3 separate regions of the Homo sapiens genome follow, and regions 2 and 3 are each linked to region 1. The links are contacts of gene promoters, found by promoter capture Hi-C in blood cells and fetal thymus (Javierre and others, 2016). All regions are on one chromosome and are shown on one strand. The core of a region is centred on a gene start or on the middle of the fragment in contact, and the rest is flanking DNA. Distances in the headings are between cores, read along the strand shown. Region 1 holds the start of LENG1 (leukocyte receptor cluster member 1). Region 2 holds the start of PTOV1 (PTOV1 extended AT-hook containing adaptor protein). Region 3 overlaps LOC105372437 (a long non-coding RNA gene).

Evidence for each region. Contacts are between HindIII fragments. The CHiCAGO score rates a contact against its expected background, and 5 or more counts as called.
Region 2: a contact is called between the fragment with the promoter of PTOV1 here and the fragment with the promoter of LENG1 in region 1, in 2 of 17 cell types (fetal thymus and non-activated CD4 T cells). The highest score is 5.5, in fetal thymus.
Region 3: a fragment that was not itself captured here is called in contact with the fragment with the promoter of LENG1 in region 1 in 1 of 17 cell types (activated CD4 T cells); the score reaches 6.2 in activated CD4 T cells.

Annotation. Positions count from the first base shown.
Region 1 is chr19:54,156,950-54,162,110 of GRCh38, forward strand. It overlaps LENG1 (leukocyte receptor cluster member 1), which reads right to left and starts at 2,772. Exons shown (of 4, transcript NM_024316.3): 1 at 2,615-2,772; 2 at 1,333-1,512; 3 at 1-76. The coding sequence starts at 2,746. TMC4 (transmembrane channel like 4) reads right to left here. Exons shown (of 15, transcript NM_144686.4): 11 at 5,153-5,161; 12 at 4,181-4,311; 13 at 3,929-4,084; 14 at 3,518-3,596; 15 at 3,159-3,425. The coding sequence ends at 3,357. RefSeq lists an enhancer at 2,105-2,774. The HindIII fragment of the contact is 1,716 bases long and covers 2,351-4,066 here.
Region 2 is chr19:49,847,248-49,852,408 of GRCh38, forward strand. It overlaps PTOV1 (PTOV1 extended AT-hook containing adaptor protein), which reads left to right and starts at 3,912. Exons shown (of 12, transcript NM_001394010.1): 1 at 3,912-4,252. The coding sequence starts at 4,082. It overlaps PTOV1-AS1 (PTOV1 antisense RNA 1), which reads right to left and starts at 4,429. Exons shown (of 4, transcript NR_040037.1): 1 at 4,321-4,429. RefSeq lists enhancers at 1,730-1,809, 3,611-3,720 and silencers at 3,301-3,380, 3,821-4,110. The HindIII fragment of the contact is 14,157 bases long and covers 3,335-5,161 here.
Region 3 is chr19:50,333,582-50,338,742 of GRCh38, forward strand. LOC105372437 (a long non-coding RNA gene) reads left to right here. Exons shown (of 4, transcript XR_007067299.1): 2 at 4,421-4,495. It also overlaps the pseudogene NAPSB. Among named protein-coding and RNA genes, the nearest start is that of KCNC3, 6.8 kb to the left of the region's middle. RefSeq lists an enhancer at 37-989. The HindIII fragment of the contact is 4,846 bases long and covers 167-5,012 here.

The DNA of each region.
Region 1 (5,161 bases), core at 1,522-4,021:
AAGGGGGTTGAGTCTGTGCCTCCGCTGCACTCTGGCCCAGGTATGTCAGGATGCCCAGAGCTTTCTCTTGCCTCTCCTGAGGGGGCCAGGAAATACAAGAGATGTGATATAATCTTTCAAGGTGTCAGGTGTGTCTCCCTGACACAGGTATCTAAGCGAACAGGTATCTAAGGCTTGTTATGAACCAGTTGGACCAGGTGCTGGGGATGGAAGACAAACAGAGGCAAAGCTCCCCCTGGGGGGACAGTAGCAGGTACAGTAACAGCAGGGGAAGGAGGGGACAAGTGGAGCCACTTGAGTGTTCAGAGGCAGGCATCTTTGCAGAGAGACTTGAAGAGAAGCCTGAAGGGATCAAGCAAAGCAGAGGAGCGATGGGTGGGGTCAGCAAGTCCAGAGACAGCAGATAAATGACAAGAGCTGATGTACCTCTTTTTTTTGAGATGGAGTCTCGCTCTGTTGCCCAGACTCGAGTGCAGTGGCACGATCTCGGCTCACTGCAACCTCTGCTTCCCAGGTTCAAGCAATCCTCCTACCTCAGCCCCCCGAGTAGCTGGGATTACAGGCACACACCACCATGCCCAGCTAATTTTTGTATTTTTAGTAGAGACGGGGTTTTGCCATGTTTGGCCAGGCTGGTCTTGAACTTCTGACCTCAGGTGATCCACCCACGTTGGCCTCCCAAAGTGCTGGGATTACAGGCGTGAGCCACCATGCACAGCCACTGATGTACCTTTTACACTTGATCTTAGCCAAAAAGCAAGAGGCGATTGATTCACTTTTTGTTTGATTGTTTTGAGATGGGGTCTCGCTCTGTCACCCAGGCTGGAGTGCAGTGGCGCAATCTCGGCTTACTGCAGCTTCCACCTCCTGGGTCAAGCGATTCTCCTGCTTCAGCCTCCCTGGGATTACAGGCGCGCACCACCATGCCCGGCTAATTTTTTTTGTATTTTTAGAGATACCATGTTGACCAGGCTGGTCTTGAACTCCTGACCTCAGGTGATCCACCCGCCTCAGCCTCCCAAGGTGGTGGGATTACAGGCGTGAGCCACAGCCGGCTGATTTAAATTTTTAAAAGCCCATCAGGTTTGAGACTCCTCCAGTTTGGAGAACTGAGCGGTTTGCCCAGCAGCTGGGGACCTCTAGCATCTACCTCCAACCCCTGTGGGCGCCCAGACGGCAATAGCCAACGCTTTTTGAGTGTCATGCCTTGGTATGGTCCTAAATTCTGTGTGTTCACTCTTGTTTGACCTTGGTCACAACCAATGGCTAAAGTGCCCCCTCCCTCCAACTCGATTCATGGCCCCTCTGATGAAGTGGGTGAGGCCAGCTTACTTTCTCCTGTCGCTTTTCTTCCTTGTACTCTTTATTGCCTCTGATCACTCCTTTCCCTTCCTCCAGCAGCTCCCGAAACAGGTCCACAGGGCCAGAACCTGGGGCTCCCGCCTCTGCTGCTTCAAGCTCAGGCAGTGAGTTCTGATGTCTGGCTTTCTTCCGTAGGAATTCTGTACGGGCCTGGGGAGAAAGTTATAGGCAGGACATTCAGAACCTAGAGGTAATTCAAGAACTGTGAGTCTGGTGCCCACCACAGAAAATGGCAGTCCAGGGTGCTGGGGTTATGAGAAAGGGAGCACTAGGCGCCTAAAAGAGGCACCTGTCCTAGCTGGGGGTGAGGGTAGGCAGATGAGGCAACGCCTGGGTTTTGTAAACTCCCTTTCAAATAGTAAACCACGGGTCATCAAGGATGTATGGGAGGAGGTCCCTGGCCTAAACCAAAGGGGTTCCTAACCTCAAGTGAGACAATTAAAACAGCCATAAAGGTATGCATTAGGCCAGACGATCTGAATTCTAGCCATGGCTCCAAGTGACTACCCCAAGTCTGCTGAAGCCCTGTCCCCTGCCTTCAGGACGCGGATTTCAAACAGCGCTCAGCAGCCTACTGAGATTCTAAAAACCTAGACTACCTCCCACCCACGGCGGAGGATCAGACTAGCTAAGGAAATGAAAGTTGGGTGTACACCAAACAGATTTAAAGAGCCATACGGAAAGCCCGTGTTTGTGTGTATGTGTCTAGGGGGCGGTGCACGAAAGGGCTCGCCCGATGGCGTGGAGCCTGGCTGTCCGCCTCTCCTTAAAATGTGCCTTCCCCTCACTGAAGCCATCTCACTTCGTGCAACAGAGATGACAGTGCCCCTCTAAGAACGAACAGTGCTTATTGGGGATTCCGCAAGTCAGGTGCACGGCATGTAGTTAGCATACAGTAGATGCTCAATAAATAGGCTGTGCAGGCAAACTAAAAAGTGATCCGAATTTCCTTGAACTGTCCAAGGGTTCACGGATTCATTAAATGTTAAGCTTCTCTTTTGTGCTAGACACTGTTCCAGCCATGTGAAATACATCAGTGGGGGAAAAACTAAGACGAGGGCGAGATCAAGGAAGGTTTCGTGGAAGTGGGCACAAGGTTTGCGGGGCAACGTCCTCGAAAGTGGGATCGGCGCCTGGTCCCGAATTTCACACGGGGCACATTGAGCCTGCGCAACGCCTCCGCTTCCGGCCCCCAACCGCGGCGCCTGCGCGCTGGGCCCCGGAGCGCCGCCCTGCCGGCTTCCGAGCTTACCTCTTGCTGAGCCAGCAGCACCCTCCGCTCACGCTCCTTCTCCTCCTCCCGGGCCTGGGCCTCGTCACGCCGCACGCGGGCGACATTGTCCTTGTTCCGGACGTGCCAGCTCTTCTTGGGCAAGATATTCATGGCGTCGTAGCTGTCCAGGGACTGGCACGCCCGCCTCTTTGCACTTCCGATTGGCGAGAGGATGCCCCCCTTTTTCTTGTCCCTACTTCGACCGCGGATTGGTTCCGAATTAGTTGGTACGGCCCCCTGGCCTGTAGCGACAGGTGATTGGCTGAGACGCCCTTTATCACAGCGAATGCTAGGCGTTCGGCTCGTGGTATCCCCTAGCAACCGCCTCTTGTCACAGATCTGAACCAATCATAAGTTGGCCCGCCCCTGATGCTACCAGATGCGGCCGTCGATTGGCCGACATGACCGACAAGTCTCCTTGCGGAAGAGCGCTCTGCACCGACAAACATGCCCGTACATTTGATTGGCTCCTGCCCCGCTGTAGCCCTGCCCCCACCTTCAGGACGCAGATTTCAAAGCGCGCTCAGCAACCTCGGCTGTATTTATTGATACAAGGAAGATCACCCGAGAGTCAGGGACGTGGCGGCGAGGGGCCCTGGAAATCTCCAGATACCAAAGCTGGAAGGGCGTGGAGTCTTCTCCAGTTCTCCTAGTTTACAGATGTTGTGACCTAGGCTTACAATGGGCCTGGGGTCTGAAAGCGGGACGTGGGCTGCGGGGGTCAAAGAGCCGGTTTGGTGGAGGTCAGCGCCACAGCGCGCCGTGCCAGGAAGACTTTATTCTGCGCCTCCTGGGGCAAAGAGAGGTGGAGGTGAGACAATCCTCTTCCCCAACCCCTTTCCATGTTCCCCAGGGGCCCTCTCAGGGACCCGCCTGGCTCACCGTCTCTCTCTGACGTTTGAGCTCAGAGATGAGGCGTCCGTAGGAGTTAGCCAGAGCCACAGTGTACGCCATCAGGATGCTGAAGGAGACAGGAACGGAAGCCACTCCTGACACGCTCTTCCATTATATCCAAACGTCTGGCTCCTTCGAAGCCAGGGATGTGGACGCCTAAGCCCCTCCTCGTCTGGGCTCAAGGAGTTCAGTCTCCCAGCCCCTCCGCCTTCAGATCCAGGAGTCCTACGTCCCGCCCACCTCCTCCTTCGGACCCAGCAGTCCAGGAGCCTAGGCCTCCTCCCTCAGACTCAGTACGTTGCCTGCTCCCACGCCCAAGCCTCTCCTCTCTTGGACGCAGGTGGTGGCCCCCAGATCACACGCATTCAAACCCAGACCCAGAAGTCTGGGCCGTCTCACCTGGAGATCAGCAGAAGGGGCACAGCAAAAGCCTGGGTCCCCAGGAAGAAGAGGAAATTCTGGGTGGTCTCAGGGAGGCTGGAAATAGACTCAGGGATCTGGGCCCAGATGGACGACTGCCCCCGGAATGGACCACACAGCTTAGAAGGCGGGATCCTGAAGTCAAGACAGGCTGGGCTCACATAGTGCCAGGAGTCTGAACACTGAATGGGGAGAGAGGGAGGGAGAGAGGCGGGAGCCTCTCGCACTTACAGGAAGATGCTGTAAAGCAGGGGAACGCTGGAGATGGCCAGACCCAGGAGAAGGACCAAGGGGAAAAAGAAATTCGCCGCGGAGGCCCGGAAGGTGCGGGCAGCCGGGGAGCAGGTGGAGAAGAGGGTAAGCTGGTGGGGGAAGGCACGGAGAAAAGGGCTCTGAAACACAAGAGTCTGTGCCTCCATTTTTTTTTTTTTTTTTTTTTGAGACAGAGTCTCGCTCTGTCGCCCAGGCTTTTTTTTTTGAGACAGAGTCTCGCTCTGTCGCCCAGGCTGGAGTGCAGTGGCTCTCACTGCAGCCTCCCCTCCCGGGTTCAAGCTATTCTCGTGTCTCAGCCTCCCGAGTAGCTGGGATTACAGGTGTGCACCACCACTCCCGGCTAATTTGTTTTGCTGTTGTTGTTGTTTGTTTGTTTTCTCTTTTTGAGACGGAGTCTCGCTCTGTCGCCCAGGCTGGAGTGCAGTGGCACGATCTTGGCTCACTTCGACCTTCACCTCCCTGGTTCAAGCAATTCCCCTGCCTCAGCCTCCTGAGTAGCTGGGATTACAGGCGCCTGCCACTAAGCCCGGCTAATTTTTTTTGTATTTTTAGTAGAGACGGGGTTTTGCCATGTTAGCCAGGCTGGTCTCAAACTCCTGACCTCAGGTGATCCACCCGCCTTAGTCTCCCGAAGTGCTGGGATTACAGGCGTGAGCCACTGCACCCGGCCTACCTGCCTCTCCTTTTTTCCGAACCAGGAGTCTGAGCCCCTTCCTCATCTAGGACCCCGGAGTCTGAGTCCCCAGATCCTCAGACATATAAGTCAGAATGCCCTAGACCCCTCCTCTCAGATGCAGTAGTCTGTCCTCCAACCCCCTCCTCTCTCAGGACCGAGTAATCCAGGCCCCCAGGATCTTCCTTGCCCTTGACCCAGGAGTGCGGGCCCCAATACCTCCTGCCTCAGACCCAAGGGTCCCCCCTACCCCTTACCTTCTTCAG
Region 2 (5,161 bases), core at 2,662-5,161, 4.3 Mb before region 1:
AAGCAATTCTCCTGCTTGAATTGGAGGATCAATCAGGAGACTGTATTTGTATTCCTGAGTAGCTGGGATTGCAGGCGCCTGCCACCACGTCTGGCTAATTTTTGTATTTTTAGTAGAGATGGGGTTTCACCAGGTTGGCCAGGCTGGTCTCCTGACAACAGGTGATCCACCTGCCTCAGCCTCCCAAAGTGCTAGGATTACAGGCATGAGCCACCGTGCCCGGCCAGTATAAAACACTTTGTCCATGTTGTCATTGTGTCCTAGCCTATGTCATCCAACCTATATGTACTGCCAGTTTGTTCTTCTAGGAAACTCAGACTTGGTAGTTGATTGGTTTAACAAATGTTGGTTAAACTGGGATTATTTGGGAAAAAAAAATTGTGTATATCAGGAAAGGCCAGATTACCCCCAGATTGCAGTGGCTTGAAACAGCCAAGGTGGATTTTGTCACTCGTGCTGTATTGAGTGTCAGCTTGGAGCCCGTGCGGACAGATCATGAAGGTTGCCAATGGACATAGTAAAGGCAGAGGGGTCTGGTCTTCCATTAGCAATTATGTGCTCTTGCTGAATTCACATGTGTCACTTCTGCTCATATCTCATTGGCCAGATGTAATCACATGGCCTCACACCTTACTGGCCAAAATTAATCACATGGCCGCACTCAAGCTAAATGGGGTCAAATGCTGGCCAAGTGTGGAGCTAGAAATATATGGCAAATAGCACTAACGGCCATCTTAACACTTTAAACATCTTATTTTAACCAAGAACATTTAAACAGACATCTCTTGTACGTAGGACCAAGACCCTTTCTTTCAGTATTGGTCTCCTAGTTAGCACACGACATTACATTCTTGTTTTTGAGACAGGGTCTCACTTTGTCACTTGGACTGAAGTGCAGTGGTGTGAACACGGCTCACTACAGCCTCAATCTCCTGGACTCAAGAGATCCTCCCACCTCAGCCTCCTGAGTAGCTGGGACCACAGGTGCATGCCACCATGCCTAGAAAATTATTGTTGTTTTTGTAGAGGTGGGAGTCTCACTGTGTTGCCCAGGCTGGTCTCGAGCTCCTGGGCTCAAGCAATCTTCCCACCTCAGCCTCCCAATGTGTTGGGATTACGGGCATGAGCCACTGCGCCCAGTAGAACATCACATTCTTGTATAAGCTCCACCCACAAACCACAATGAGTCATTTTTTTAAGTGGCTTGAGAACCTAAAGACATTTATGAAACAAACTGGGGGCTGAGTCTTCCTAGGTTTTTATAAGCTTTTTCATTAAATAATTTACAGTTGCTTTACTTGTACCTAACTTGGCAGCATTTTTTTTTTTTTAAGAGATGGAGTCTTGCTTTGTTGCTCAGGCTGGAGTTGCAGTGGTGAGATCTCAGCTCACTGCAACCTCCACCCCCTGGGTTCAATCGATTCTCCTGCCTTAGCCTCCAGAGTAGCTGGGACTACAGGCATACACCACCATGCCCGGTTAACTTTTGTATTTTTAGTGGAGACGGTGTTTCACCATGTTGGCCAGACTGGTCTTGAACTCCTGACCTGAAGTGATCTGCCCACCTCGGCTTCCCAAAGTGCAGAATTACAGGTGTGAGCCACCACGCCTGGCATGTTTTTCTTTTAACAACTCCCTTTTAGTCTTTCCAAAGCAAGCAATCTGGTTTGTGTATAAACAACTGTCTTGCATTAATTTCATTAGTTTGATAGTAAATTAAACAAGAACTTCTGGCATAAACAGGTTTGGATCAAACAGCTACCTTTCAGGAAGTAAACAGCTTGAGAGATGGAAGTGGAATTGCTTAGTCATAATAGTAGCCTGCTAGCCCCAGCAGTGGGCTTCACAGATGAAAAGGAAAGTGTCTTTCAAGTTGGTGGACCGAGTTAAGTGAGATGGTTTCAGAGAGTTTTGTTGCAGTATTACTGATAGAATTTCAGCCTACATTTTCATTTCACTTTCTGACATGAGTTCCCATTTTGCTCACTCTGGAGTACACCCTGGTATACCGCTCTCCATGCTTATACAATTCAGGGCATTCAAACTCACGTGTGTCCTGATGGGTTCTGAGGGATGGGAAGGCATTAACAGGTAGAGAACAGGAAGGATGGGAGAGAGATTTTTTGGGGGGCGGCAGCAGGGGCCACAGTACCAAGTTTGGATTTAATTCTAAAGGCACTGGGAAGCCATTGGATGGTTTTGATTATTGTAGTGACAGAGAAGGCAGCAAGAGTTAGGAGACGTCACCCAGGCAAGAGATCTTGATGGTTTGGACCAACAAGAATGGGGAGAAGTGAGGATTCCGGGAGATTAAAGCAGCTCCTGTTTTTTCTCCTTCCTGCTGCCAGGTTGTCCTCACATGGGTGATTGACAGGGCATTGGAGGTACCTGTTGATAACTAACTTGCAGTTTGTGTTCAGGGAGCACTGACTCCGTTTGGCCACAATGCAGGTTGGATTTGGGGTTTAAGGCTGGGCTCCAGTCAGCCCTCGGGAGCCCCTGGGCAGGAAAACATGGACAGGCCTACGGGTTCTTCTGCCATTTCACTGGCCACTCCTCCGTGTCCTTTGCTGGTTGCTTCTCATTGTCGTGACTGCTAAAGGGATGAGTGTCCCAGTCTCTTTGTGAGCTCATCCAGTCTCCATTCAAACACTGATGACTCCCGAATTTCTCTCTCCAGGCTATGACATCAATATCTATCTACATTGTTTAGTCAACATCCGAAACAGAAGTAGGGACTCCGTCTCTAACCTCCTACAGCTGTGTCTATTTCTCCTCTCTACCTTCACTCGACTCCGCCCACACTGGCTCCCTTTTATTCCTTCTACTTTCAGGATTTGTCTTTGCTGTTCTGTCCTCTTTGCACACTTTTCCAGCCATCTGGAATGGCAGGTTGCTCACAGGTCGTTTTCTTGACTTCCCTTGCTTGCTAACTTTACCTCGCTATGGTCATATCCCATCGCCCTGTGGATGTGCGCTAGTTAACACTTAGCACAGCCTGTGATTATGTCTCTCCCCAGTGGACCGTGGGGCCTGTGAGGGACGTGGTCTGATTCGGTCGTCGCCGAGCACAGAACTGGACAGGGTACTCATAACAGATTTTTGTTGTTGTTTTTAAAGAAAAGCTAACATTTGAGTAGTGACTGCGCCAAGCAGTCAAGCACAGCCCCTCGGGCTCGATCCCCATAACCACTCTAGGGTTAGGTATTACCCACGTTTAAGGAACAAAAATCGAGGGAAAAATCTTATACAACTACTAGTAAGTAGTCATTCCATTTTAGCAGAGCGAATGAGCGAATCCACGGAAGGCCGGGGAGCGACGTGAGTGGCGAGAAGCTTGGAGTCGCCAGGGACGGCGGGCGGAGCCTGGGCGCCGGGGCTAATGGGCGGAGCCTCCAGGGACAGCTGGCCCCGCCCAGGCCGCGCGGGGCCCGCTGGGAGTTGGAGTCCCTTGCCCACCTCGCCACGTCACCGACTGCAAACCTTCAGCTGTCTCAGGCTCGGGTGCAATCCGTACCCTCAGTGGGTTCCCTTTCAGTGGGTTCCTTTGTCCCCAGGCCCATTATTCCGTCCTCCCCTCTTCCCTGATGTATTTTGGCGCGGTCTCCTGGCTCTGCGGGCCCAGGGCTCCGGATGAGGTCTCCCGCCGTCCCGACCCCCGCAAGGGGCCAGCTTGGTGTCGCCTTCGTTCTTCTGCCACCCCATTCGGTAGGGGCTCCCGTTCCCGCCACGCCCCCTGAAGTTGTGGCTCGCGCGTCTTCCCAGGACTCCCCCGCGCCGGAGAGGCCCGCAGGACCGCCGAGCCCACACTCCGCTCCCGCCCGGGCCCCGCTCCCCCGCGCCGCCTTGGTACGCTCCGGCCACGCCCCCTCGGACGCGCTTGGTACGCGCCGGGCTCCCCCGCTCGCCTCAGTGGTTCGGCCGCGGCGACCCCACTCCGGCGGCGCGTCCCCCGAGCTTGGTACGGCTCAGCCCGTCTCCCCCGAAGCCGCGCGCCCGCGCCCGCGCCCCTCAGTCGGTGGAGCCCGCAGCCCCCCTTGTGGCCCGCGGCAGCTCCCCGCCCGCTCGGCCCGCGCCCGCCATGGTCCGTCCGCGCCGTGCCCCGTACCGCTCCGGCGCCGGGGGCCCCCTCGGGGGTCGCGGCCGCCCTCCGCGGCCCCTCGTGGTGCGCGCCGTCCGCTCGCGCTCCTGGCCTGCCAGCCCCCGAGGCCCGCAGCCTCCGCGGATCCGGGCCCGCTCGGCCCCTCCCATGGTGAGCCCCCCGCCCTTTTTCCAGAGCCTTCCACGGCCCCGCCCCCCCAGCCCCTATCCCGGGCTCACGCCTTTGTCCGCAGCCCCCGCCGCTCCGGGGTGTCCCCTGTGGCCCGAAGGGTGGTCCCGCCCGGGGCCGGGTTCCCCCGTGGAGCACCCGGTGGTTCGCGCCGCGCTCTCCCCTTTGTTGCGCGTTCGGGCCGGGGTGGGGGGTTGGGGGACGGGGGCGGGGCGGGCTCATATTACTGCTGACTCCGCGGCCCGATTTAAACGCGGGCTGGGGGCGGCAGACAGGCAGCCGGCACGCTCGCTTGTTTTTCCTATTGGAGAGTTGCTCGCTCTCCGGGCAGGAAACCTGGAAATGGGGGCGGTTTTGGGGGACAGCGGCGAGGGAGGGGCCCGCGCTTTGTACCAGCGCCCCCAGATGTCGCACCCGTGGGCGTTCTCCCCTGGCGGCCGCTCCGTGCCCGTGGAGTGCGCACCTAGAATACGCGCCCGCGCCCACATGTGGGATGCTTTGATGGACTGCCGTGAGCCCAGACCTTAAACGTAAACATTCAGCTTCGCAGGTACTTTGGGCTGCACACGCTTCTCCGGACCCAAAAGATGCACATGCTTTTCAGAAACCGTAAGGTTTACCTGGGGCTGTAAAACCGCACATCGCGACTTTGCACCGTGCACACGCTTGCCCCGATGTGAGATTTCCCCTGGGTTCGCGCTCGGGTCCGCTTCTTAAATACACTGCCTCAGCGGTGTGGATGGCACAGAGCTGTGGCAGCCCTACTGAAACCTTAAACAGGCTTCCTGGGGTCATAAACATGGATACCGAGACTTAGATCACCTCCCACAACTTAAACGTACCCCTTCACTCCACTGCCTTCGCCCCTTCCTGCAGCATTCGCATCTAGTT
Region 3 (5,161 bases), core at 1,340-3,839, 3.8 Mb before region 1:
ACGACCGTGATGCTCCACGGAGCCAGGAGCCTTTGACGAAAGGCAGCGTAGGCGAGGGCCTTCATGGGACTCGTAGTACAAGGCCCATCACAAGGGTGCGCCGTGGAGAAAAGGGGTGATACCCTTCGCCTCCCTCTCTTCCTCAACTCCGTGGGTCCATGCACAAAGCTTTCTCTTCAAAAAGTACGCTCTGAAAAGAAGCAACCTAGGCAGGTTCGTTCAATGGAAATATTGGATTTTTACTGAGTAGCGCTAGCTCTGCTACCCGGTGCGCATGCGCATCACCTGGGCGGCACCCGCGGTACTGCGCCTGCGCGGTCTCGCGCCTTCCCAGGTCCGCTCCGCGAGGGCGAGCGCGCGCCAGTCCCACTCGTGCGCCGCTCTTCATGTCCCCGCGGTCGAAGACGGTCACATACGCCCCCAAGAAAACGTCGCCGAGGATCCACACAGGTACTGGAGGCGAAGCGATGTCCAAGGCCCGGAAGCCGGACAAGCAGAGGCGGACGTCACCCTGAGCAAACTGCAAGGCGACAAGGCGGCAACTGGGTGTCCAGGCCGCAGGAACCACCATTTCCCTGGGAGTCCGTGCTCTCTCCGCCCCCAACCCCGGGGACAAGAAATGTTTCTGTGGCCCCTTCCGGCCCTAGTGATGTCCAACTACCAGCTCCACCCTCTCAACTCCAGTCATATTACATCACTGTGGCGTCATTATGACGGACACCTACCTGGATGACGTAATCCTGGGCCGTGAGATTAAACCAGACCCCCCCAATGAGGAGTGAGACTGCGGGGAGCTTTGGGATTTCTGAGCACCGGATGATGTACTGGTGGAGGAGAGGAACAAGTGAAGATGGGAGATTCCTGCTCTGCTCAAATCCCGTCCGTGGCTCCCCAGTGCCATGGAGTAATGTTCATATTGAGCACCTGGGTATTCAGCACCGTGTGTGGACAGCCCTGTTGCCTAGGCTCCTCTCATCTAGTCCCAAACAAAACTGCATTATCATCTCCCCCAACAACCCCCCCCCCACTCCCACCCCTACTTCACCATCCACTGAGCCACTTAGCATAGACACTTGGGAAGTATCTTTGCTTCCTCCCACCACTCTCTGGCATGTCACTTAAGAAGCCCAGTCCCCTCTGTCCTGGATACGCTCTAGCTACCTGCTTCCCATCCTCAGGCCGCAGTGTTCGCCATGGAATTGCCATCATCTTCCCCAGGACACACCCACCAGAGACTGGGACCTCACCTCCCCAGCCAGCAAGGGGATTCCCCCAATGGCTGCATGCAGGGCCCGGATCTCCTCAGTGGGTCCTACGATGACAGGTGTGCCTGTATCCAGGATGGCAGCACAGCCCTGGGCACAGAGAGTCAGCCGTGAGCCCACCTTCACACTGAGGGGGAAGGAAGCAGTCATTAGAGGCAGGGTCCTAGGAGTCCAGGCCTCCAGCTCCAGACCCAGGAGACCAAGTCCCTCACCGCTCCATGTGGATCTGCCAGTAGGCGGGGACTGTGACTGGCACGAAGGTGAGGGGTGGGATGTAGTGTGCCGGGTCTGAGCCCCCCAGGACCAGCTCTCCTCCATCAGCCACTTCAGGGTCCCTGCAGGGGCAGAGTGTAGAGGTCATTGTCGCCAGCCCTCCCCCGCCAGCCCTAGGAATGGCCAGGGATGGGACTTCCTGCCAATTGGGTCATTTTTGGGGTTCTAGTTGGGGCAGTGGAATGCAGGCAGGGCCGAGATGTTGGGACTGGAAACAAGAAATGAAGGGAAATGGTGCTTTTCTTGATGGAAGTTAGGACTTTAGGATGATGGATACTTCCTGAAGTGGAGAGGAGACTTCTTCATTTGGCTGTGGAAGGTAGAGCTTTTGGGGGAAATTCCTGAGCTGAATATCATAGTAACCAAGCAGACCAGTGGAGTCTCAGAATTGGCTCGAAGGTGTGACTTGTACAGGAGTGGGGTGGCTTCCTGGGAAGGTGCATAGACTTTCTGAATTGCCTGTTGTGGTATCTAGAAAGGTGTTAGACTTCCTGAGCTGGCTGAGAGTGATGGGAACGGGGATGGAAACTTCCTGGAAGATGTAAATGAGTGGGACCTACCGAGAGCTAGGTGGAACTTCTTGAGTGGGTTGGATGTCAGGGTAACTGAGTGGGCATTGGACTGTGTGTGATGGGCCCTGGGAGGGAAAGTGAAGACTTCTCGGGTGGTGGGTGGGACTTCTGAGCATAAGATTGACCTTCCTACCAGGTGGGTGGGGCTTCGTGAATTCAATCAGGCATTTCCTGACTTCTGGTCAGTGTTCTCAAATGGGATTTGAGCTTTATGGTGAAGAGAAGGTTCCTGAGTATTTGGTTGGGTGGGGCATAGAATTTCCTAGTTTGATTTTGAAACTCAGCATATTGAACTGTTGGTGAGTTTCTTTAATATGTCTTAAGTTGTCACTTAAGCTCTGGGGCTTATGAATAGGGTTGAGGTGTTTCTTCTGTTAGGTAGGTGGCTACTTCCTGAATGAAGGGTGGGATTGATTTTTTTTTTTTTTTTTTTTTTTTGGAGACGGTCTCTCTCTGTCACCCAGACTGGAGAGCAGTGGTGCGATCTCGGCTCACTGCAACCTCCACCTCCCGGATTCAAGCAATTCTCCTGCCTCAGCCTCTCAAGTAGCTGGGATTACAGGCATGTGCCACCGCACCCAGCTAATTTTTATAGTTTTAGTACAGATGGGGTTTCACCATGTTAGCCAGGCTGGTCTGGAACTCTTGACTTCAGGTGATCAATCTGCCTCAGCCTCCCAAATTGCTGGGATTACGGGCATGAGCCACCGTGCCTGAACTGGGACTTTCTTTATGGAGTAAGAGACTTCCTGAAGGAGGGCCTCACTTCCTTCTGAGGAATAGGACTCATAGATAGGTGCACCCTCCCCAGCACCTGTTGAAGTAAAAGGAGAAGACAGGCTTATCCAATAGCCCCTGCTCCACCAGTACATCCAGCGGGGGCCGAACTCCTTCCACAGACAGAATGGGAAAACCGAGGCCCAATATCCCATCGGGGCGGGAAACAGTGAAGACCAGGCTGGATTCCCACAGAGCTTCCCCGAAAATCACGGATGCACCCTTGATTCCACCAATCTAGGGGTAGATTGAGATGTGACCAGTTACTTTTGGGAGGACAATAACCACATGTCCTGAGGTCTCCCAAACCAAAGCATTAATCCCAGGTCTGGGGACATCTGGACCCAAGCCCCCAACTGCTTAGCAAACTTTGCCTCTGGACTTGAGAGAATTCCTATCCCTTCACCCAGGAACCCCTCCCCCTCCTTGAGAAGCCCCATCCATCGGCTCAGGAAGCCCCTGCACCTCAAGCCCCTCCCTAAGCCAGATGATCTTAGACAACAGGGTTCTCCCAGGCTCGAGGCTTCCTGGAGTCAAAGGCCACTCACAGTCAGCTTGTCCTCACTCAGGATTCCATCTACCCGCCCAGTTCCATACTGAATGGCAAACTTGGTCCCACTGGGCTTGAAGGAGCTGGAGGCATTGGGATTGAAGCGGTGGTGGAACCCTAGGTCAGAAGTCAGAGAGGTGTCACTGTGGGAGGGGAGCTTTCCGAATGCCTTCTGCCCCTTTAACCTTCTGACCTTTGAGGGTGTCAGAAAAGAACAGTTCCTCAAAAACCTTTGGGAAGCTGAGGCCCAGCCCCGCCTTCTCCCTTCACCCCCATTCAGCCTTATTCTCCCACATAGAAGCTCACAGCAGGGCACACTGAAGAAGTGGCATCTCCTGGACGGGACCCAGAGATTGGAGGAGCCAGTGTCAAAGGCAACAGTGAAGTTTTGTGGAGGCGTTCCCAGCCCAATTTCCCCAAAATACTGGGCCTGAGGAGGCAAAAGAAGAGACAGAGTCAATGAAGAGTTTGGCTCAAGGGCACAGGAGTGGGGGCTGTGTAGGGCTGTGACTCACATCCAGGAATTTGGAGAGAGGTACCGAGGCAGGCTTGTCCCCAGGGGATGGGGCCCCCAACTTGGGGAGCTCTGCTGGTTTTCCCCATCCCCTCAGTAGGTTCAGGGTCCTGCGTCCAGGGTGGACTTGACGAAGAGGGATCCTGTAGGGTATGAAGATGATGAGAATTAGGAAGCCGCCCTTCCTGGAGACCCTCTAAAATAGACTTACCCAAATGGAATATGATGACAAATTCAACATTTCCAAGGCGCTACAATAGGAGTCATTACCAGAAACCCTACAATAACAACCTCCGGGAAACCCTAGCACAGAAACCATGATGACAGATATCCCCAAAGACTTTACAGGAACAAACCATCCCAAACAGAACTTCCCAATGGTATCCAAGTCCTTAAAATAAGCCATTCCCAGGGAATTGACATTCTCAAAGTTTTCCCAAGACCCTAACATGAAATCTGACCTTTGCAGAAGCCCTCGGATGGTGGCCCTTGCATGCTTCAGTTCATGATGTTGGAGACTATTTCCCCACCCTTGCGGAAAAACGTAAGCATCAAATCTTAATTTCACTTTTTTTTCCTGCAACCTCTGCCTCCTGGGTTCCAGTGATTCTCCTGCCTCAGCCTCCCGAGTAGCTGGGACTACAGGCGCGCACCACCACGCCCAGCTAATTTTTGTATTTTTGGTTGAGACGGGGTTTCGCAATGTTGGCCAGGTTGCTCTCGAACTCCTGACCTCAGGTGATCCACCTGCCTCAGCCTCCCAAAGTGCTGGGATTACAGGTGTGAGCCACCGCGCCCGGCTGAGACAGAGTCTTGCTCTGTCACCAGGATGGAGTGCAGTGGTGTGATCTCGGCTCACTGCCGCTTTTGCCTCCCAGGTTCAAGTGATTCTCCTGCCTCAGCCTCCTGAGTAGATGGGATTACAGGCACGTGCCACCAGCTAATTTTTGTAGACAGAGTTTCACTGTGTTGGCCAGGATGGTCTTGATCTCTTTACTTCATGATCTGCCTGCCTCGGCCTGAGCCACAACAGCATGAGCCACCGTGCCTGGCCTGAGGAAAGCTTTTCTAAGCATGAAGGCAGGATCAAAAATCATGGGGGAAAATATTAATAAGTGTGACTCAAAATTGACACCTGTTGGCCAGGCACCATGGCTCACGCCTATAATCCCAGCACTGTGGGAGGCAAAAGCAGGCAGATTACTTGAGC